Regions from separate parts of the Homo sapiens genome. Here regions 1, 2, 3, 4, 6 and 7 are each linked to region 5. The links are contacts of gene promoters, found by promoter capture Hi-C in blood cells and fetal thymus (Javierre and others, 2016). All regions are on one chromosome and are shown on one strand. Each heading gives the region's core, a stretch centred on a gene start or on the middle of the fragment in contact. The rest is flanking DNA. Distances are from core to core; before and after follow the strand shown.

The links. Contacts are between HindIII fragments. The CHiCAGO score rates a contact against its expected background, and 5 or more counts as called.
Region 1: a fragment that was not itself captured here is called in contact with the fragment with the promoter of STAMBP in region 5 in 2 of 17 cell types (non-activated CD4 T cells and total CD8 T cells); the score reaches 6.1 in non-activated CD4 T cells.
Region 2: a contact is called between a fragment that was not itself captured here and the fragment with the promoter of STAMBP in region 5, in 1 of 17 cell types (fetal thymus). The highest score is 7.5, in fetal thymus.
Region 3: a fragment that was not itself captured here is called in contact with the fragment with the promoter of STAMBP in region 5 in 1 of 17 cell types (naive B cells); the score reaches 6.1 in naive B cells.
Region 4: a fragment that was not itself captured here is called in contact with the fragment with the promoter of STAMBP in region 5 in 10 of 17 cell types (fetal thymus, non-activated CD4 T cells, naive CD8 T cells and 7 more); the score reaches 21.1 in fetal thymus.
Region 6: a contact is called between a fragment that was not itself captured here and the fragment with the promoter of STAMBP in region 5, in 5 of 17 cell types (fetal thymus, naive CD8 T cells, total CD4 T cells and 2 more). The highest score is 9.2, in fetal thymus.
Region 7: a fragment that was not itself captured here is called in contact with the fragment with the promoter of STAMBP in region 5 in 2 of 17 cell types (non-activated CD4 T cells and total B cells); the score reaches 5.5 in non-activated CD4 T cells.

What each region holds. Positions count from the first base shown.
Region 1 is chr2:74,489,130-74,491,869 of GRCh38, forward strand. It overlaps TTC31 (tetratricopeptide repeat domain 31), which reads left to right. Exons shown (of 13, transcript NM_022492.6): 3 at 896-998; 4 at 1,115-1,344; 5 at 1,527-1,610; 6 at 1,999-2,055; 7 at 2,166-2,246; 8 at 2,352-2,543. Among named protein-coding and RNA genes, the nearest start is that of TTC31, 7.4 kb to the left of the region's middle. The HindIII fragment of the contact is 4,043 bases long and covers 1-2,740 here.
Region 2 is chr2:74,550,975-74,553,845 of GRCh38, forward strand. It overlaps LOXL3 (lysyl oxidase like 3), which reads right to left. Exons shown (of 14, transcript NM_032603.5): 2 at 1,348-1,672. The coding sequence starts at 1,660. It also overlaps a transcript of DOK1 not described here. Among named protein-coding and RNA genes, the nearest start is that of LOXL3, 1.5 kb to the right of the region's middle. RefSeq lists silencers at 1,788-2,082, 2,068-2,362 and an enhancer at 2,068-2,362. The HindIII fragment of the contact is 3,787 bases long and covers 1-2,871 here.
Region 3 is chr2:74,589,634-74,592,583 of GRCh38, forward strand. The region is part of intron 4 of M1AP (meiosis 1 associated protein); the gene reads right to left. Among named protein-coding and RNA genes, the nearest start is that of DOK1, 36 kb to the left of the region's middle. The HindIII fragment of the contact is 4,982 bases long and covers 1-2,950 here.
Region 4 is chr2:74,531,199-74,534,215 of GRCh38, forward strand. It overlaps HTRA2 (HtrA serine peptidase 2), which reads left to right. Exons shown (of 8, transcript NM_013247.5): 4 at 141-173; 5 at 399-504; 6 at 658-727; 7 at 1,421-1,516; 8 at 1,622-2,121. The coding sequence ends at 1,787. It overlaps LOXL3 (lysyl oxidase like 3), which reads right to left. Exons shown (of 14, transcript NM_032603.5): 12 at 2,902-3,017; 13 at 2,684-2,795; 14 at 1,060-2,481. The coding sequence ends at 2,408. Among named protein-coding and RNA genes, the nearest start is that of HTRA2, 2.8 kb to the left of the region's middle. The HindIII fragment of the contact is 295 bases long and covers 1,157-1,451 here.
Region 5 is chr2:73,827,479-73,830,332 of GRCh38, forward strand. It overlaps STAMBP (STAM binding protein), which reads left to right and starts at 1,483. Exons shown (of 10, transcript NM_213622.4): 1 at 1,483-2,032. LOC105374807 (a long non-coding RNA gene) reads right to left here. Exons shown (of 3, transcript XR_940246.3): 1 at 2,838-2,854; 2 at 1,279-1,426. RefSeq lists a silencer at 1,254-1,472. The HindIII fragment of the contact is 5,447 bases long and covers 622-2,854 here.
Region 6 is chr2:74,508,482-74,511,181 of GRCh38, forward strand. No RefSeq gene overlaps it. Among named protein-coding and RNA genes, the nearest start is that of PCGF1, 2.1 kb to the left of the region's middle. RefSeq lists an enhancer at 1-23. The HindIII fragment of the contact is 467 bases long and covers 1,160-1,626 here.
Region 7 is chr2:74,570,349-74,573,138 of GRCh38, forward strand. The region is part of intron 7 of M1AP (meiosis 1 associated protein); the gene reads right to left. Among named protein-coding and RNA genes, the nearest start is that of DOK1, 17 kb to the left of the region's middle. RefSeq lists enhancers at 799-898, 1,896-2,105. The HindIII fragment of the contact is 5,991 bases long and covers 1-2,790 here.

The sequences.
Region 1 (2,740 bases), core at 124-2,623, 660 kb after region 5:
CAATGAGGAGAGCAATAGAAAGCAATCAATAACAAGTTTCTAAATTGTGTAACACAGATAATGTGGTTGCAGGTTAGTTGGAGGAGGCAGAGATAATTGGAGATGAAAGGGTCTGGGAAGGCTTTGAAGGGAGATAGAATTTGAACTGGACCTTGAAGGTGAGGCAAGATGTGAGAAAGAAGCTCAAGAGTTAGGAGGGATTGGAGAGCAGCTGGGGGAAGGCCCCAAGGCTGGAGGGAGCCTGGTGGTGGGAGGGAGGACAGCAGTGAAGCAGGGGAGGATTAAAAGGAGGGCTGGAAAGGTCAGCCTGGGAGCCTTTTGGAAGGCTCTGAATCGTAGGCTGAGGAATTAGGTTCAACTCTGCCTATGGCCTTGGCAGTGGGGGATTATTGGATGTCCCTGAGTAGGGAAGTAATTTCTTAGAGCTTAGTTTTGTGGAGAAACAGATGAGGTGCAGAGGAGCGGCCAGCCAGGAGCTGCTGTACTTGTTTAGGTGTGAGCTAGCCTCAGGGTGGGTTATGTGGAGCTGTTCATACTGCAGATATGACAGGGGGCCTAGCTGGAAGAGCAGGTGGGAGGGCTTCATTCCAGGGGCCTCAGTGTGGCTAACTCAGGTTGAGGAGAGAAGATCCTGGATGGTAGAGGAGGCCAGGTTGAATACCATACTCAACCCTTGGGAAGGCAGGAAAGCAGCGAGGGGAGGTGATTCACTACAATAGCTGGGGGCAGCAGATTTTGCGGTGCTGAGGAGGGAGAGGTCAGAGCCAGTGAGAGTCTCTGGGCTGGATAGCTGGTTGGTGGCTGCCATGGTGGAGAGATCAAGCCAGCGAAGCCCTTGCTCTCTCCAGGAACTGCCCCCAACACCAGCCTCCCCTCCCCTCCCCTCCCCTCCCAGGACATAGTGGATTTTCTTCGACGGCTTGTGGAGAGTGATCCCCAGGGCCTGCACCGGATCCATGTGGATGGGAGCAGCGGGCGGCTGCAGCTGTGGCACCATGGTGGGGAGTGCAGGGACCGGGCCCAGGGATCGAGGCTGGTACCCTGGGAGGGCTGACCCTCAGATGCACCCCGCTCTCATGTCCTTTCTTTCCTGTCTCTTTCTCCCTCCTGACAGATTACCTCCTGGGCCACTTGGATGATGAAGGGAAATCAACTGGACAGAGTGACAGGGGCAAGGGGGCTGAGGGACTGGGCACCTACTGTGGTCTCCGCAAGTCCTTCCTGTATCCTCCCCAAGAGTCTGAGCCCTGCCCTCAAAGCCCCTCTGCCTCTGCCACCTTCCCCAGTGTCTCAGACAGCCTGCTTCAGGTGGCCATGCCCCAGAAGCTCCTGGTGACAGAAGAGGTGAGATTCTCAGGAGAGGGCTTTGCCGTCCCCCAGGGTTCTTTCAATCCCTGTATCCCCATCCCTATATTCTCCCCTAATTGGTACCTTTCAAGATCCTTCTATACTGCCTGCCCCCTTTCATGTTTGCTCTCCATTTCCCTGTTTCTCTCTTTTTCTGTCACCTGCCCTTCGTCCTTCAGGAAGCCAATCGCCTGGCTGAGGAGCTGGTGGCTGAGGAGGAGCGCATGAAACAGAAAGCAGAGAAAAAGCGACTCAAGAAGAAGGTGGCTAGAGCATGGCTGGAGGGTGCAGGGGAGCCAAAGGGATTTGGGAGAGGGAAAGAGGAAACTTTGTGGGAACAGGAGAGAGCTCAAGATGGCCTGCAGTGGACTCTCTTGCCAGGAGGACACAAGGGGCCCAGGGACTGGGGGGTCTCTCACAGGCCATCTGGTGCAGTGGTTCTGGAATCCTACTGTGCTGCCTAGGTAGGAATCTGCCTCCTTACATGAGGCCTCTTGCTGGTGCCTCTCTTGTCTGCTTTTTCACCTGCAAAATGAGGATAATAATGATGCCTGTCTCATAGAGCTGCAAAGATGGAATGCGAAATCTTAGCCCAGCACACGACATACAGTAAGTGTTCAAAATACATCATTGTTACCATTACTATTGCAGCGTCAAAAGGAACGGAAGCGACAGGAGCGTTTGGAGCAGTACTGTGGGGAGCCCAAGGTGAGTATCTAGGGCAGGTACTAAGAGCACCAAGTGCCAGGAAGGTGAGGGCCAAGAAAGCAGGCAGCTCAAGGTGATCCCAACTCTGTACCTGTCTATCTTTCTTCCAGGCCAGCACTACCTCAGATGGAGATGAGAGCCCCCCATCCAGCCCTGGAAACCCAGTTCAGGGACAGTGTGGTGAAGAAGAGGTGAGAGCCCCTTTTTTCCCTTCTTGGTCTCTGCTCATTTTCCTCCTCCTCCTCCAGAATGTACTTCATCCCCACCCCCTCCCTAACTTTCCATTTTGTTCACAGGACTCACTGGATCTATCTAGCACTTTTGTGTCTCTGGCTTTGCGCAAGGTTGGGGATTGGCCCCTCAGTGCCCGCAGAGAGAAGGGACTGAACCAGGAGCCCCAAGGCAGGGGTCTGGCCCTCCAGAAGATGGGTCAAGAGGAAGAGAGCCCTCCAAGAGAGGAGAGGCCCCAGCAGAGTCCAAAGGTACAGGTGAGGTGGCTGAAGAACCTTATTCAGCTGGAACCGTGGAAGGGGCACAAGGAGCTGCTGGGGAGGCACAGGGTCTAAGGATTGACACAGGGTCCAGTGGGAGTTCTCTGGCTCTAGGGTCAAGAGACCTACAGTCAGGCCCCATCACTGTCACCATGACCCCGGGTGGTTTCCTGTCTAGGAAGATAGGGCTGATA
Region 2 (2,871 bases), core at 47-2,546, 720 kb after region 5:
TAGGCTGAAATGCAGTGGCATGATCTCAGCTCACTGCAACCTCTGTCTCCCAGGTTCAAGCAATTCTCCTGCCTTAGCCTCCCAAGTAGCTGGGGCTACAAGCATGTGCCACCATACCTGGCTAATTTTTGTATTTGTAGTAGAGACAGGGTTTCAACCATGTTGGCCAGGCTGGTCTCGAACTCCTGACCTCAGGTGATCCACCCACCTCAGCCTCCCAAAGTGCTGGGATTATAGGCGTGAGCCACTGAGCCCGGCCTGAACCCTGTGGAGTATCACTGGCTTCCTCTCAGAATTGGGCGCAGCCTCAAAGGTCATCTGTCCTAGCCAATGTTCAAGGACATCTCATTCACATCCCAACAGGACTTACCCAGTTGTTGCGGAGACACCTAGCTCCTGCCCCACCAGACTGTGTAACCATCAAAGTCCTTGTGACTCTTCATGACTTTCCCCTACCACATCTGATTCATTCCTTTGGTGCCAACCAGAAAAATCCTTCAGCCACACGACTGTCCTTCCCATATTTAAAAACAACCATTACGCCATTGCTATGCAAGGTTTTTACTTTCCATATCAATCCCCTGATTCTTCAGCAATTCCTCCTTGAAACTTGGCTTCTGAATCTTTCACATCTAGGCAGCTCTCCTCTGAAAGTATTTCCATTTTCTACTGTCCCTCTTAAAACACAGCATCTACAAATGACACTTAATTCCACAGGTGGTCTAGCCAGTGGGAACTGGGGAATCAGCTGCAGGTTGCACCTGCTTCTGTCCATCATTCCCACTGTGGGTTCATACCATGGGCACAGTCCTAGGCCTCACCTAGGGAACTGCTCTTAAGCCTCCACCACCCACACTCATACTTGTCCTAGATTTTATACTTGTCCTTAGACAGTACCACCTTGTTAGTTTTAGCTCTGGCCCATAACCTGATTTTGTTAGCTGCAGTGTCTGTGACCCCTTGTGACTTTGGGACATCCAGATATCATTTACCTGCTCTTAGCGTCCCATGAGACTAACTGTACTTTATTTGTACAGGGCTCACCTGTATCTGGGCTGTTTTGTGGATGGCTTTGTAGGATCATACTTTTGCAGCAGAAAAGAACTTAGACATCATCTAGTCATTTTGCATACAGGGCATCTGAGGCTCAGAGAAAGCACTGACTAGCCTAAGGTCACACAGCTCTGGGAAGTAACTATGTTGCTTGGTTTGTCATCCATGGATTTACTCAATGCTGGCTGTTCTTGGTGTCGTGTGTCCCTATGGCTGTGCCATCCTCGTGTTCCCTTTCCCTGCACTTTGGCCACACATAGGAAATATCTAGGATATGCCTGGATCATTGCTCACCTGTTCCAGGGCCATATTTGGCACTGTGGGTCCAGCCTGTGGCCTCTGTGAAGCCCAGCTCCCGGCAGAGGATGTGGGCAGCCTGCAGCGTGAAGTCATCATCGCAGATGGTGCCCCATTCACCAGCTCGCTGTATCTCCACGCGGCCCTCGTAGGGCTTCCTGGGGAAGCCAGCCAGCCGGAACCGAAGCCCCTGGCTCCCGGCCTTCTTCTCAGGGCCCGTGGAAGGGGACGGAGACCCCAAGCACGAACTGCACAGCAGGCACAGCAGCAGCCCCCAGGGGCTCCACTGCCAGACACTGACAGGTCGCATGGCAGGGAAGGCCTGGGTGCCCCAGAGACAAAGTGTGCGTGAGAGAAACAGATTGAGTGGGGCCCAGAGTCAGAAAGAGAGGGAGAAGTCACGAAAGAAAAACAGACACTGAGTAAGACAGAGACAGCGAGAGACAACAGGAGAGAAAGAGCCCCAGGGACCAAGAGACAGGGAGAGAAACACATTAAATAAGGGCTGAGGCACAGGTCATAGAGGCACAGCCTGAGAGACCCAGAGATAAGAGACAACTATGAGAGATCGAGAGTCAGAGAAGGGTCAATAAAAAGAGATAGAGACTGAGCAAGAGACACGTAGAGAGAGAGGAAGACCCAGACAGACAGGATGTGAGAGGAAGGGAGACTGTGGGAATGAGAGAGAGAAAACCAGAAAGACACAGAGGAGAGAGACAACGGATAGAAAGTGATAGGCAAAGAACTAAGCACTCAGTATAGGGGAACCAAGCACACCGCGGGTGAGAAGGAGAGGGATTGACAAGAGCCAAGGGGCGGACGTGGGAGGGATCCAGATGACCCCATTTACTCAGAGGGAGGACAGACAGCTGTACTGATTGTGCAGAGAGGCACGTAAGGGGCCCTAGGCGGCCCTGGGATCACAGATCCCCTGAATGGGAGCCCAGAGTCCTAACCCAGCAGATTCCCAGGCAGGGAAGGCTGGCACCAAAGCTCGCCTGGAGAACCTGCTGCACGCCCTCCCCAACACGCAGGCTCTCAGATGCCCTGCAGGGTCAAGAGGCCCAGGAGGGCCAGGCCTCAAGGCTGGGCGGGGGATGGGGTAGGGTTGTCCCAGCCTCCTGCCAACACCACCATCCCTGTCACCGGGCAACGGGAGGCCAGGCGCTATGGCTCCTCAGCCAAGGCCTTCTCTGCCTAGGGCTGAGAACAGCCCCTCTACAGCAAGCCCCCGTCAACATGCTTCCCCCAACCCAAACAATCAATCCAACAAGGCAGCTTTGTTCTGGGTTGGGGACCCAGGGGCAGCGCCTCCCGGAGGAGCCCCCTCCCTTAGGGCGCTCCTGGCGGCCCTGTTCGAACACCCGTAGCCCCCGCCTCCGGTATGTGCCTCCTCCGTGTACTCTGTCTCACTTGCCCTTTGACAAGAATCAAACTCTCAGTTGGGTGGCTTCCCCTCGACTCCATCCCACACCACCCGTTTTCCCTGGTCCCTCCACATCCTCTCCATCCCCTACTCAT
Region 3 (2,950 bases), core at 173-2,672, 760 kb after region 5:
TGGGGAAGGAGGGAAGAGGAATCTGGGAGTTCCATGAGCAGAGCTCAAGCAGAGATCCTTCAGCCTGTAGTGGACATGCCTCTTTCCCAGCTCTGGTCAGCTACCCAGGGAATTCTATTGTTAGCAGTTGTCCATTCACCTGCCCTCATCAAGCTAATATAGTCTAAGGCAGGCTGAAAAAAATAATTGACTGTTAACTAAAGAACTAATGGTTCACAATGGATGATTTATATTATGGGTGTCCAATCTTTTGGCTTCCCTGGGCCACATTGGAAGAATTGTCTTGGGCCACACATAAAATGCATCAACACTGATGATAGCTGATGAGCTTAAAAACAAATCTTATAATGTTTTAAGAAAGTTTACGAATTTTTGTTGGGTTGCATTCAAAGCCGTCCTGGGCTGCATGCAGCCTGCGGGAAGCAGGTTGGACAAACTTGATTTACATAATTTCTGACTAGGGAATAGTGGGTTCTATTTGGGCTGCTATCACAAAATACCACAAACCAGTGGCTTATAAGCAACAGAAATATATTTCTCACCGTTTTGGAGGCTGGGAAGTCCAAGATCAAGGTGCTGGCAGATTCAATGTCTGGGGAGGACCTGTTTTTGGTTGATAAATGGCCCCTTCTCACTGTATCCTCATATGGTGGAGGGGGCAGACAAGCTCCTTAGGGAACATTTTATAAAAGCACTAATCCCATTCAGGAGGATTCTGCCCTCCCTCATGACCTAATCCACCATTCAAAGGCCCCACCTCCTAATACTATCTATTTGGTGATTAGATTTCAAAGATGAATTTTAGGGGGGGCGGGGGCGGGATACAACATTCAGACCATAGCAGACTCCCTTAGCTCTAAGATAGGTCCCAAATACTACAATTTCAAATGTAGTATTTCAGCCTTTAGTAAACAGATGAATTGGGTAAGAAAAAGTTTAGAGAGCAATTATTTTGGCTGGGAGAGTAGCCTTTTTATAATCTTTTTCTTAGGCTTGTGTGTTTCTAAGAGGGCAGAAGTGGGGACTGCCCTATGAGAGAAGCTGCACTGCACCCCTCACCTCTGGAGCCACGGAAGTGTTCCCGGATTGCCAATCCCACTTTGAACTGAGTGACTTGCTCTGCCCTAGACAGTCCAGAGAGAAGTTATTGCAGGTACGGGAGAGAAGGGCCCTGGTTAAGGCAGGGTATACCTGCCTCTGGCACCAGTTGTAGCACCTTATCTACCTCTGTACCCACAGCACTAGCGCAGTGTTTACATACAACAGGGGCTCAGTAAACGTTATATTGAACAGAAGAAACTAGCCAGCCTGGTGCTTACTTTCTCTGTGACCTTAGGCCAGTCACTTCATCTCTTTAAGCTCAATTTCTCCATTTGTAAAGTGGGAATGATAGTGATACCTAGGCTAAGGGTTTACTTGAAAATGAAATAATGACACTTGACTCCTGAAAGCAATTTGTGGACTTTAAAGCACCATGCAACTATAAGGGATGATAGAGTATAAAGCCGCCTCCCAGCTGTCTATGTAGTAGATATGAACATTTTATTCACTAAAAGCCAGTGCCATTTCTTTTGCTGAAAATTTTCTCTTCAATAAAGATCTAAGTTGTAAGAAAATATATTTTATCTATGGGTCTCAATGGCTTCATTTTCATTTTATTGGAAAAATGCAGCTTATATGCAAAAGAGATTGATCACTATTGATTGAAATATTCCAAAGTCTGAAGTATTTTTTGACGTGAGAAACATTAGACTTAGAAGGTATTTTAAAAGTCTTCTTTTTCTACAGGGACTAATACATATATTCTATAAACCAAAAAGCATTTAATGTAAATTGCAATGCAAAATTGAAAAGCTGGGAAGAAATATTGTCATAGGCACTGTGGTGGGGGAGGGAGCAGGGGAATGGGTTATTTAGGAGAAGTTTGAATTAAGAAGAAAGCAGAGTTAGGAAGGCGTTAAATCTTTTGACATGACCCAAGAACCACACCAAGCAGTTTTGACTCCTTACACCTAAGGGAACTGAAAGAAAGAGCTGCCTTGAGGTGAAAATAAATGTAAGTGGAGCCATGAAAGAAAAGACTTACTTGGGGGAGCTAAGTAGAGTAAGGAAAAGCTAAAGAAGACGCTCAAATCAAAGAAAGTCCTAAGACATACTCTTTTATTTTTTTGAGACAGAGTCTCACTCTGTCCTCTAGGATGGAGTGCAGTGGTGTGATCTCAACTCACTGCAACCTACATCTCCCAGGTTCAAGTGATTGTCCTGCCTCAGCCTTCTGAGTAGCTGGGATTACAGGCGCCCACCACCACGCCTGGCTAACTTTTTATTTTATTTTATTTTATTTTTTTTCAGTAGAGAAGGGGTTTCACTATGTTGGCCAGGCTGGTCTCGAACTACTGACCTAAGTGATCCACCCACCTCGGCCTCCCAAAGTGCTGGGATTACAGGCATAAGTCACTGAGCCCAGACCTAAGACATATTCTTAAAAAAATCCTAGATAGACTGTATAATAGCTTTGCAACCGACTCTGTGTATATACATGCATTTTTGTAGATCTGGGGGTGTATCTTCAGGGTATTAGATTCCTAGAAGTGGGGCTGGTGACTTCTAGGGATAGAAGTAAAACACATAGGTAATTTTGTGTTTAAAAATAAACACATGCCACTTCTATTGGTGTCATACTTTTTAACTTTTGCCAATCTAATAATAGGTAGGAAATAATATTTTGGTATAGTCTTAATTATCATTTCTCTAATTATGGGTGAGGTTGAACATATTTTCACATGTTTAAGGACCATTTAAAAATCTTTTTTTGAATTATGTGTTTATGACTTTTTTCCATTTTTCTCTAGTGTTTTTGGTCTTTTTCTTACTCCTCAGTTTTAAAGTGTTCTTTATATATTAGAGATATTAGTCTTTTTTTTCTCCCATGGCATAAATTGCAAATACT
Region 4 (3,017 bases), core at 54-2,553, 700 kb after region 5:
TATAGAGCTTAGGCTGCAAAAATGTGGCCACTTATTCATGGGCTGAGAAAGAAGAGAATTTGGAGAAAGTACCTACATCCTGGTATGCCCCCAGACTTAGAATCCCCAGATCTCTTTCATGTTTTCTCCTTGTCCTACAGTTTGGAAACTCTGGAGGTCCCCTGGTTAACCTGGTGAGTGAGACATCCTTCCTTCCAAGAATCCCTGCCCCAGGTCAGTGTGGGAAGGGTAGGTTTCCCCTAATTCAAGGATGTTTGGTCAAGTTTCTGAGCAGTTCTTTGTTGGCTATCTCTCAATATCCAACCAGATCTCCCCAACACTTGCTGGTACTTTTGTTCGGGTGCCCCCATCCCCTACTATTTGTTTAGGCTAGGGAACTGGGGGCTGTATCCCTGCAGGATGGGGAGGTGATTGGAGTGAACACCATGAAGGTCACAGCTGGAATCTCCTTTGCCATCCCTTCTGATCGTCTTCGAGAGTTTCTGCATCGTGGGGAAAAGAAGAGTGAGCCTGCCTTATGGGGAAACGGGTTCCTTTAATGTGGTGGAAATAGGGGAAGGGCATTCAGTGGGACTTCCTGGAGGGTGGTCTACTGGGAGAAGAGGGCAGGGAAGGAAGGATGTAGCTGGGTGGGGCTCATTTGTCCCTCTGTCACAGATTCCTCCTCCGGAATCAGTGGGTCCCAGCGGCGCTACATTGGGGTGATGATGCTGACCCTGAGTCCCAGGTATGAGCTTTAGGGACAGTGACATGTAATGTGACCAGTGTAATCAGAGGGGGGCACCTCTATTGAGCTTTGTTCTCATTTCTGTCTTTATCTAAGATGAACTGTGTCACACTTGAAATAATCACAAGAGCTGTCTCCCTTCATCATCTTGACTTTCTTATCCCACTCCACTTTGTACACCTGTCACCAGATTGATTTCATCCTGTTACTGCTTTGATTTCAAGCCTTCAATCCATTAACTTGGCATTTAAGGGCCATTTTCCATCTGTCTGTAAATCAACTTTCTAGACCTGGCTGTAATACCTTCCTATATGAATACTCAGCCAACCTGATTTCCTACTCCCATGTTTTTTATTTATGCTGTTCTTGTTTTATATGGTTAATATCAGATCCATCCTTTTAGGCTCAACTTAAGTTCTTTCCCCTTAAAGCTTCTCTTAGTATTCTAGAATGACATTAGTGCTATTGATTTAACACTGTTTGTCATTTGGTGCCCTCATGTGGTGTACATCTTTTATGTACATGTTGCACTTTATTGCTAGAAGACAGAAAGTGAGTTGCCATTGTATTTTGTAGTACCTAGCCCATGTCCTGTCCATATATTTATCAATGTGTTGATGAGAGACTTGAGGTGGAACTCAGGATGGGGAGAATGCCTGGGTTTGGCTAATAGGGTGATCTGTGTACTTTCAGCATCCTTGCTGAACTACAGCTTCGAGAACCAAGCTTTCCCGATGTTCAGCATGGTGTACTCATCCATAAAGTCATCCTGGGCTCCCCTGCACACCGGTGAGGGAGAGGCTGCAGTGTGATATGGGGATGGGCAAGGTGTGCATGTGTCCTTGAACTAGGCTTTGTACTCCTTCCTTTCTCTCTGTCCATTTTTCTCTATAGGGCTGGTCTGCGGCCTGGTGATGTGATTTTGGCCATTGGGGAGCAGATGGTACAAAATGCTGAAGATGTTTATGAAGCTGTTCGAACCCAATCCCAGTTGGCAGTGCAGATCCGGCGGGGACGAGAAACACTGACCTTATATGTGACCCCTGAGGTCACAGAATGAATAGATCACCAAGAGTATGAGGCTCCTGCTCTGATTTCCTCCTTGCCTTTCTGGCTGAGGTTCTGAGGGCACCGAGACAGAGGGTTAAATGAACCAGTGGGGGCAGGTCCCTCCAACCACCAGCACTGACTCCTGGGCTCTGAAGAATCACAGAAACACTTTTTATATAAAATAAAATTATACCTAGCAACATATTATAGTAAAAAATGAGGTGGGAGGGCTGGATCTTTTCCCCCACCAAAAGGCTAGAGGTAAAGCTGTATCCCCCTAAACTTAGGGGAGATACTGGAGCTGACCATCCTGACCTCCTATTAAAGAAAATGAGCTGCTGCCATCTTTTGTGGGCAGTTAGTCAGGTGCTGCTCTTTGTGGTGTGGTGGGCTCTGGTCTGTTCTGCTCGGTGCTGGGCCTGGGAGCAAAGATTCCCATGCTTGGCTACAGATACTGACAGCTGGCCTCTGAAGGAGGGTGAAAACTTCTGCTTGACAGTTCCACATCCATAGTGCATGGTCTGATGAGTGCGGTTGCTGACATGGGTTTCTTGGTAAGCTCCTGAGGTAATGGCAGCCTCAGACCCCTGCCATTAGGGGCCAGTGGTGGTTTGCAGAGGGCAGTGGCACTTAGATAATCTGGTTGCTGGTCTGGCCAGGGTAGCGTTCAAACCTCCTGTTGGCCTCTTCACTGAAGGCATCACCTGCAGAGTGGACAGGCAATTTGGGAGGCGCCCTGCACAGAGGGAGGGAGATAGATGCACTGTGGAGAAGGGTGGGTAGAAGTGGAGGGACTGAGAGCTCTACAGGAAGGTGGGAAGATGGAGAAACAAGCTATGGAAAAGAGAATGAACGTCTTTCCCTCCCATCCCCTAATCTTCCTGGGTTGCTCTTCCCATCAAATACCAATGTGGCAGTTGTGCACCCAGATTCTATGTCCATCATATTTGCAGTTACATTTCATTGCATTGTTGGTAAAGTCACTCTCTGCTACTTCAAAGTTTGGGTTGATGACAACCTGTGAGTGAGAAAAAGGCCACTTAACCCAGCGACAATCCTCGAATTCAAAGGTGTCTTTAACGCTCCCCCCACTCACCCATCTGGAAGCCCCAGACTCCAGGTACCTGGAGAATGTAGTTTCCTGGCTTCACATCCGTGATGTCAATCCACTGACAGTCAATGTCATGCCGGTAGAGATCCCAGCAACCCACAGTGATGCCTTGCTCTCCAAAGTTGGCAC
Region 5 (2,854 bases), core at 233-2,732:
GCACATAGTAGACACTCAGTAAACATTTACTGAGTGAGAGGTTGAATGGATCAGATTTTGACCTGTGTTGCCTCCTGCCAGGACCCCATCTGCACTATAATGCCCACCCAATGACCAGCATCTCCAGTGCATCAATTTCTTTAGGCCCAACCCATCATGTTTACATTCTGAAGAGAGTCAGTAGAGAGAGTTTTGAAGACACAGTAGAGTGCCCTATACAATTATCTTCCCAGATTTATCTGCAGTAGATCCATGAGAGTTGATAGTAGACCCATGCACATTAATGCTTGCTGGGGGCAGAAGGGGAGGTGATATGATGCAAGCAAGTACTTTCAACCCTAAGTCTGAAAAGTTGATGACTACACAAAATCACTTCAGGTAACTCCAACAGAAATATACACAACGGAGGTTGGGAGAAATGAGAGATCTGGAGGCTGGCTAGGTGGAGGAGGCAACACCTGAATTAGGGATTTAAGCTAGACCTTGAAGAATAGGTCATGCCATCACACTAACAAACTCACAGGGAGGCTCCCAAATTTTGGGAAAGTGTCCCCCAGAGACTTAGACTTTTAAACCAAAGCCTAATGTTTCACAAAGTCTTCTGAGACAGAATGATTAGCAAGCTTGTAGGACCTTTTTGTAAAGAGGATGTATATGGATTCGTACAGACACACATCTACATGCAGAACGTGCCATTCTGTATTTGATGCATAAAACCACCTTGTCCCGGTCTCAGGGCAGGAACAGTGTCATACAGATTTTTGTGTCTCCACTGCTTTTGCATAGCGGCTCTTAGAGATTAAACGCTTTTTTTCCAAATATTTTATAGGTTTTTTGACATTAAAACGTTAGTCTCATCTGGGTGCGGTGGCACACGCCAGTAATCCCAGTACTTTGGGAGGCAGAGGCAAGAAGATCGCTTGAGCCCTGAAGTTGGAGACCACAGTGAGCTATGATCACACCACTGCACTCCTGTGACAGCCTGGGTGACACCGCAAGACCCTGTCTTAAAAAAAAAAAAAGTTAGACTTATGTTCTTTTCTAAGCAATAAAATTAGTCTTAGATATTGCCTAATATCTAAGACTACCAATTTTTGTGTAGAATGTAATACAAGCTAAAAAATACATTCGAAAGACTTTCTGTCCCCCAATTTATAAATCCTGGTTAGTTTAGCTAAGTCTGCAGTTGTGCTGGGATCAGCAATCCCTCCTTAAATGCAGGAGTATTGTGAGTGTGATGAGGGACTACCCCAAATCAAAATAATTTTAAAAGCAAACCTTAGCTTGCTAATTGGTTCCACTTTCTTCCTTGTTCCTTTTCCTTTACCAAGATGGCCGCTGTGTCGTTCGCTCCTCATTGGTCGGATTTTCCGCAGGTGCCGATTCTAGCCCCACCTACTAGCTCTCCGTTCCAAGTCCTAAATCACTGGGAATGTAATAGACAGACGAACGGGAGTGGGCGGAGCGGGCGCCGGATGTGACGTTTCCGGAACCTCCGGGTGTCATCCGCGGGGAAAGGTGGGGAAGGGTCCCGGGAACGTGGTGGGGCAGGGCCTCCGAGCGTGGTTGGACTTTGAAGGGGATCGGCCGCCGTGAGTGTGGGGCCTGCAGCCTACTCTCCCCGAGTCCCCTGCCCGGCCTGCCTCGCTCGAGGCACCCGACGGCTTCTGTCTCCGCGGGCTGGCGCCTGACCAGCCAGGCCCAGCGGTTCCCCGCCTACTGCATTTGAAAGATCCCGAAAACCCTGGATGATTGTGCCTGGGGTTGGCAAGTTCGTCTTGAGTGCCTTCAAGAAGGGTTCCTCAAGCAGTTGTCGATAGAGCCCTCCCTACTGTATACGCCCCCTCCGCTCATTCCTGCTACTTCCTTTCTCCTCCTCGTATTTCCCCCTCGGTCCTTTACGCCGCCTTTCCCCCTCATTTGCAGATGCTGCATCCCCTTTTTGGAATTGCTCAACCAGGTGGTAACCGGCGCCGCTTCCTGGCCTTGGGAGGTGGTTCCTTTCTTAACCCACAAGAACCTCTCCCAAGAGGTACTGAGATGCAACAAGCATCCTCTGTTTCAGTTAACTTTCATGGGCCGTGGACTAGGTTTACTAATTACTTGGGGAGGTTTTAGATATGCTTGCGGCTTTCTGAGTCCCTAAGGAGGCCTCGTGAGAGATGGACTATCTCTGCATCCCTAGTAGTCCTCACGGCTTTTGTGCTATTAGTGAGGGTGTTTTAGAGGGGAAGGTTTGTGGAGGAATTGTGACCCGAATATTGAAGAGACCTAAAGATGGAATTGGCTGAGAGAAGACTACCCCTGAGGGAAGAGTTGTAGTAGAAAAGAAAAACTGGATAGATAAATGAAACTGAAATGTGAGGATGCCTGGGCGGATTGGAATCCTGACTGAAGCAAAAGATCTCTGTTGGGGAGGGCCAGTTGCCACAGGGCCTTGAATTCCAAGATTTATTCTACTGTAGTTTGTGTATTCTAGAGCATACTGATTAGGGTTTGCTGTAATGCAATGTGTGTCAAATGCCCAGTTTTATTTTGGAGATGATAGTGGTGATATCTGGTTGGAATTTGGAATCTGATTCTAACAGCAACTATATCTAGAAAGACTAGAATTACTGGAGTTTTGGGACACCAGGGGTTTTTGCAATGCAAGTTACCATCGTGCCTTTTTGTTATTCAGTGTTTAGTCTATGAAGATGAGTAAATGGTTGTTTTCAAGATTTAAGTCTCTTGCCATGATAATGATGAATGAATGATTTTATAGATTGACTATAGTGGTTTAGTGAGCAGAGTTACAATTATGAGCATTAATTCCCAGACCAGTTCCCCTAACTCACCTTGTGCTCAAATATGA
Region 6 (2,700 bases), core at 143-2,642, 680 kb after region 5:
CCGGCTCTGGGTACTTAAAAAGGGATAAATTTGCTATGAGGTATTAACATCAAATGCAACTGGAGATACGAGAAGGGAGAGATTCCAATGGAGACCTCAAAAAAGGCTTTCTGGAGAAAGTGGGACTTTGGGCACAATTTAGACTTGGGGGAGGGGGTGGAAGTGTGGTGAAATAGAAAGGACGTGGAGGGGAATGACCAGAGGACAGGAAGGTCAAGATGTAGATTTGAGAGTGGTAATAGAAAAAGCAGGGCCATAAAGAGTTGCGATTTTTAGCCTGAGGGCAATTGGGAGCTAGCGGACTTTTTTGAAGGGAGGTTATCCTGTGAAAGCGACATTTTTGTTCATTTCTCTTCAGAGTGAATTGAAGTGAATATGCAGCAAGAAGTTATGAGATTAGTGATTAATCAATTATTCGTTACAGCCCCTGTTTACCTACTTCCCTGGTCCGAGCCACTATCATCTGTCCTCTGTAGTGGCCTCTTGACTGTTTTCCTTGAGTCCCCCTTCGCCTGTTCTCAACATCACAGTTGAGTGCTGTTTCTCAGAGCTAGTGATTCTGATAAAACATGAAACACAAAGGACAAAGGACAATTTTTGAGATGTGGATATGTTTATTATTTTTATGGTGATGATGGTATCATGGGTATATACATATGTCAAAACTTATCAAATTGTACACTTCAAATATTTGCAGTTTATATGTCCATTATACTTCAAGAAAGCTATTAAAAATAAAGTTGAAAAATTAGGTTGTTCCTTTTTTACGTTTAAAACCTGTTGAGAGCTTCCCTTTTCAATCAGAATGAAAGTCAAAGTCTCAGAGTGGTGTGCAAGGGCCTGCATAGTCTCTTCAGATACACCAGGATATCCTTCCACTGTGTCCCCAACTTGAAATGCTTAGGTATCCAAAATGGCTCCCTCCTTCTTTCAGGTCTTTACTCATGAGGCTGCTGTAATCACTCTAGATGAATAACAACTCACCCACCCTTTCACTTCCTTGCTCTTTTTTTTCTGGTTAGCACTTATTAGCATTCTATCATTTATTATTATTTAATATACATTTCTAATATATATTATATTTTCTAGTTATTTTCAGAAAATATTTTCTAGAAAACATATTTCCTAGTTTTTCATCTGCCTTTTCCACTAGACTATAAGCTTCTCAGTGGCAAGGATTTTTTTTCCTCTGTTGTGTTCACAGATATAGCTCCAGTGCCAGGTGCATAGTTGGTGTTCAATAAAACTTTTCTGGATGAATACATGAATGAATCCAAGTGGTGGTGATGACAGCCTCGATTAGGGTTTTAGCAATGGCAATGGAAAGGAAGGGCTGTATCTGAAACAGTTCAAAGGAAAGTATAATAGGAGGAAGTAGCCAGGAACCTGGCTTGGTAGGCCTGGGTAAGAGGGTGAATGAAGAGCTTTGGAGGGAAGCATGTCCTCCAGCCTGCTGGACTTAAGGTGGCTGCAGGGAAGCAGGGGGAGCTTGTCAGAAGGCTAGGAGAGTGAGCGGTGGGGCTGGAGTGTCAGAACAAGGGATGGAGGTCTCAGAGTTATCTGGCTGGATATGAGAGTTGGGACTTTTGGAATGGGTGAAACTTGAGCAGATGAAGAGATAAAGAAAGCTTAAGGCCTGGTGCAGTGGCTAATGCCTGTAATTCCAGCACTTTGGGAGGCTGAGGCAGGTGGATACTTGAGCCCAGGAGTTGGAGACCAGCCTGGGCAACATGGTGGGACTCCGTCACTACAAAAAGTACAAAAATTAGCCTGGCATGGTGGCGCATACCTGTAGTCCCAGCTACTTGGGAGGCTGAGTTAGGAAGATTGCTCGAGCCTGGGAGGTTGAGGCAGCAGTGAACCGTGATAATGCTACTGCACTCCAGCCTGAGCGACAGAGTGAGATCCCATGTCTTAAAAAAAAAAAAAAAAGAAAAGAAAAAAGAAAGCTTAAGTCTGAGCTCTGAAGAATCCTCACAGTCTTCAGTGGAAGAAGGAAAATCAGTGGAGGAAAAACATAAGCAGTGACTACGAAAGTCCAAAGATGTGGAATAAGATATTACAGAAGCAAAAAGAAGGGACACTTCAAAAAATAATTGATGACCAACAAAGTAAAACATGCCAGGGAAGTCCTGGAGGAGGGATACTGAACACTGGAGCTCTCTGAGAAAGGGTTACTATAATGAAGGCAGCTTGCACTGAGTTAAAACAAGAATAAATCATGATGAAATGGAGGCAGTAGGCATGAAGTAAAAAGGAAAGGAAAAGCATGATCTCTCTTGAAGACTCAGGCAAAGATTTTGTCCAGATGATAAAGATCTGAGACAGCTGAGGGGTAGGAAAGACTAAGTTGATGAGAGCCACGGACACACAGGACATGGTGAGACAGATCCAAAGCAGTGTGTATGAGGGGGCACTCATTCCAGCACCTCTATCTTCGTCTTTTTTTTTTTTTTTTTTTTTTGAGATGGAGTCTCGCTTTGTCACCCAGGCTAGAGTGCAGTGGCGCGATCTCGGCTCACTGCCAGCTCCGCCTCCCGGGTTCACGCCATTCTCCTGCCTCAGCATCCCGAGTAGCTGGGACTACGGGTGCCCGCCACCAAGCCCGGCTAATTTTTTGTAGTTTTAGTAGACACGGGGTTTCACCGTGTCAGCCAGGATGGTCTCAATCTGCTGACCTCGTGATCCACCCACCTAGGC
Region 7 (2,790 bases), core at 86-2,585, 740 kb after region 5:
AAAGGGGGGAATTTCTATTCTGGGCCTAAATTTGACCAAAGCCTAGGAATTGGTTAGTAAAGTGGGGAAGCGATAGAAAAGGCACTATGTCAATCTGGAGTTTGGGTAGTCAAATTATATCTGAGACTTTAATCTCAAACATAGGATCCTATATTTAAAAACCTATTTGAAATATGTTTTTCTCCAAAAAGAAACAGCATACAAATGTCTAATGACAAGTGGAAGAAACTAGAGAGCTCCCATTCAAGAAGTACCATTTGAGTTTGGTCTTTCAGGATAGGGTAGGATTTGAACACACAGAGATGAGAGAAAGGTCAACATGAGCAAAGGCTCAAAGGTGGAAAAATTTAAGGTTTCTGTATTAATTTGGTTGGAGTGTATGGTACATGAAGGGGAATAATGGGAGATAAGGTGGGACCTTGAATATTAGGCTAAGGAATATGGACTTTATGGATAAACAATAGTAAGCCACAAAGTATTTTTCAGCTGAGTAGTGGCAGAATCAGTGCTGAATCAGATTAATCAAAAGATTAATCTGTTGGCATTATGTGAAATGGACTAGGAATGGGAAGCACTAAAAAAGCATTGAGACAAGTTGAGAGATTATTGCAGTATTAAAGGAAAGGTTAAAAGGGCTTGAATTAGGATAGTGATAACAGATGCTATAGGGATAGAATAGGCAAGGTGTAATACGTGATTGAGTATTGATACATAGAAAAACATGTGATAGGGGAATGCTTCAAGGAGATTAAGCTAGTGCCAATGTGCAGGGAAAACCAGAAGAGAGAGAGATTGGAGGCAGGGAAGCCAGTTAGGAGTTTACTGAAGAAGTCTTGGTGAGACAAGCAGTGGGAACAGGAAGTAAAGGAGAGTTACAACTCATGTTATGAGTGGAAAATTGATATGACTTAGTGATGGAGTAGGTGTAAAGGGTGAGATGGCTGAAAGTGACTGAGGTTTCAAGCCTGGGTGACTAGACAATGGCGGTGCTGCTATTAACAGAAAGGCAGAAGTTAGAATGAGAAGTTGGCTGGAGGGGAACATTACAGTGAAAAACAGAAGGCAAGAGAGTTAAATATGGAGCTGACTTGAAATCAGATTTTAAAAGAACATATGAAAAAGGTATATGAAAGAATAAAAAACCAAAGATGGAGTTAAAGAAGCATGGCAAACTTGTAAAAATAGGCTTAGGAGGTTAAAACCCTAAATAAGTCTCGTCACACTTAAAAATATTTGTGTTGAATTAATGAGCTGAAGTTTGTGAAAAGTTTGTACTCTATAACATACTGCCATTCAGGATTTTTGCTGCTTGGAGAAAATGTCATGTGAAAAACAAGAAGGAAGAGGCATTTAAACACTGTTTTGCGGCCAGGCACGGTGGCTCACACCTGTAATCCCAACACTTTGGGAGGCTGAGGTGGGCAGATCAACTGAGGTTGGGAGTTTGCGACCAGCCTGACCAACATGGAGAAACCCCGTCTCTACTAAAAATAAAAAATTAGCCAGATGTGGTGGTGCATGCCTGTAATCCCAGCTACTCGGGAGGCTGAGGCAGGAAAATTGTTTGAACCCAGGAGGTGGAGGTTGTGATGAGCCAAGATTGTGCCATTGCACTCCAGGCCTGGGCAACAAGAGCGAAACTCCGTCTCAAAAAAAAAAAAAAAAAGAAAGAAAACTGTTTTGCTGCTGTCTTTTCCAGAATAGGAGAGTGGTCTTTAATCTAGATGAGGTGGACCAAACGGAGTAAAGAGAACAGCAGTACAAGATGAGTAAGCCGTTGTTATGAGTACTGTGCCATTTTAAGTGAGTTCAACTCCGCTGAAGTACAGAAGCATAGGGTGTAAGTGAAGGAGAATTAGCTTCAGTGTTATAGTCTGTATTTATCTGGCTACATCCAGAGTAGGGAATTTAGCAAAGAAGTTAAAAACATGGGCTTTGTAGTCAACAGAACTAGGTTCAAATTCTTTTTAAATTTTCTTTCTTTCCCACCCCCCCTAAGCAGTGTCTCCCTCTGTCGCCCAGAGTGCAGTGGTGCGATCATGGGTCACTGCAGCCTTGAACTCCTGGGCTCAGGCAAGCCTTCCACCTCAGACTCCCGAGTAGCTGGGACTACAGGTGTGAGTCATTGCTCCTGGCTAATTTCTTAATTTTTAATAGAGACAGGGTCTCACTCTGTTTCTCAGGCTAGTCTTGAATTCCTGGGCACAAGTGATCCTTCTGCCTTGGCCTCCTAAAGTGTTGGGATTACATGTGTGAGCTAGGTCCTCAAACTCTGACAAGACTACTTTGGTAGCTGTGTGACCTTAGGTAACTTACTTGGTCTTTTTAGGCCTCAGCCTCCTCCATCTGCAAAAGTTGGGATAACAATCTCTACTTCAGATTATTGTGAGGATTAAATGAGGTAAAGTATGCAAAACACTTGGTTAAGTGACTACCACTTAGTAAATGCTCCAAAATATGGGTATCTACTAGTGACAGGTCAACTACATCCCTGCCCTTTTCCAAGACAGAAGACTAACAAAGAAAAGGTCTCTTCATCTCTACAACAGTGCTTGGCATACAGTGGTGAGTAAATATTTGATAAATAAATAGACAGATAGATAAATACAGATCCTCAAACCCTGAGTTTAGTGGCAGGGAGACTCTAATCTCGTGTATGTAAGCCAGGATGGAAGGGAATACTTTTTCCCATCCTTATTATTACTATTTTTTTTTTGAGACAGAGTCTCACACTGTTGCCCAGGCTGGAGTGCAGTGGCACGATTTCGGCTCACTGCAACCTCCGCCTCC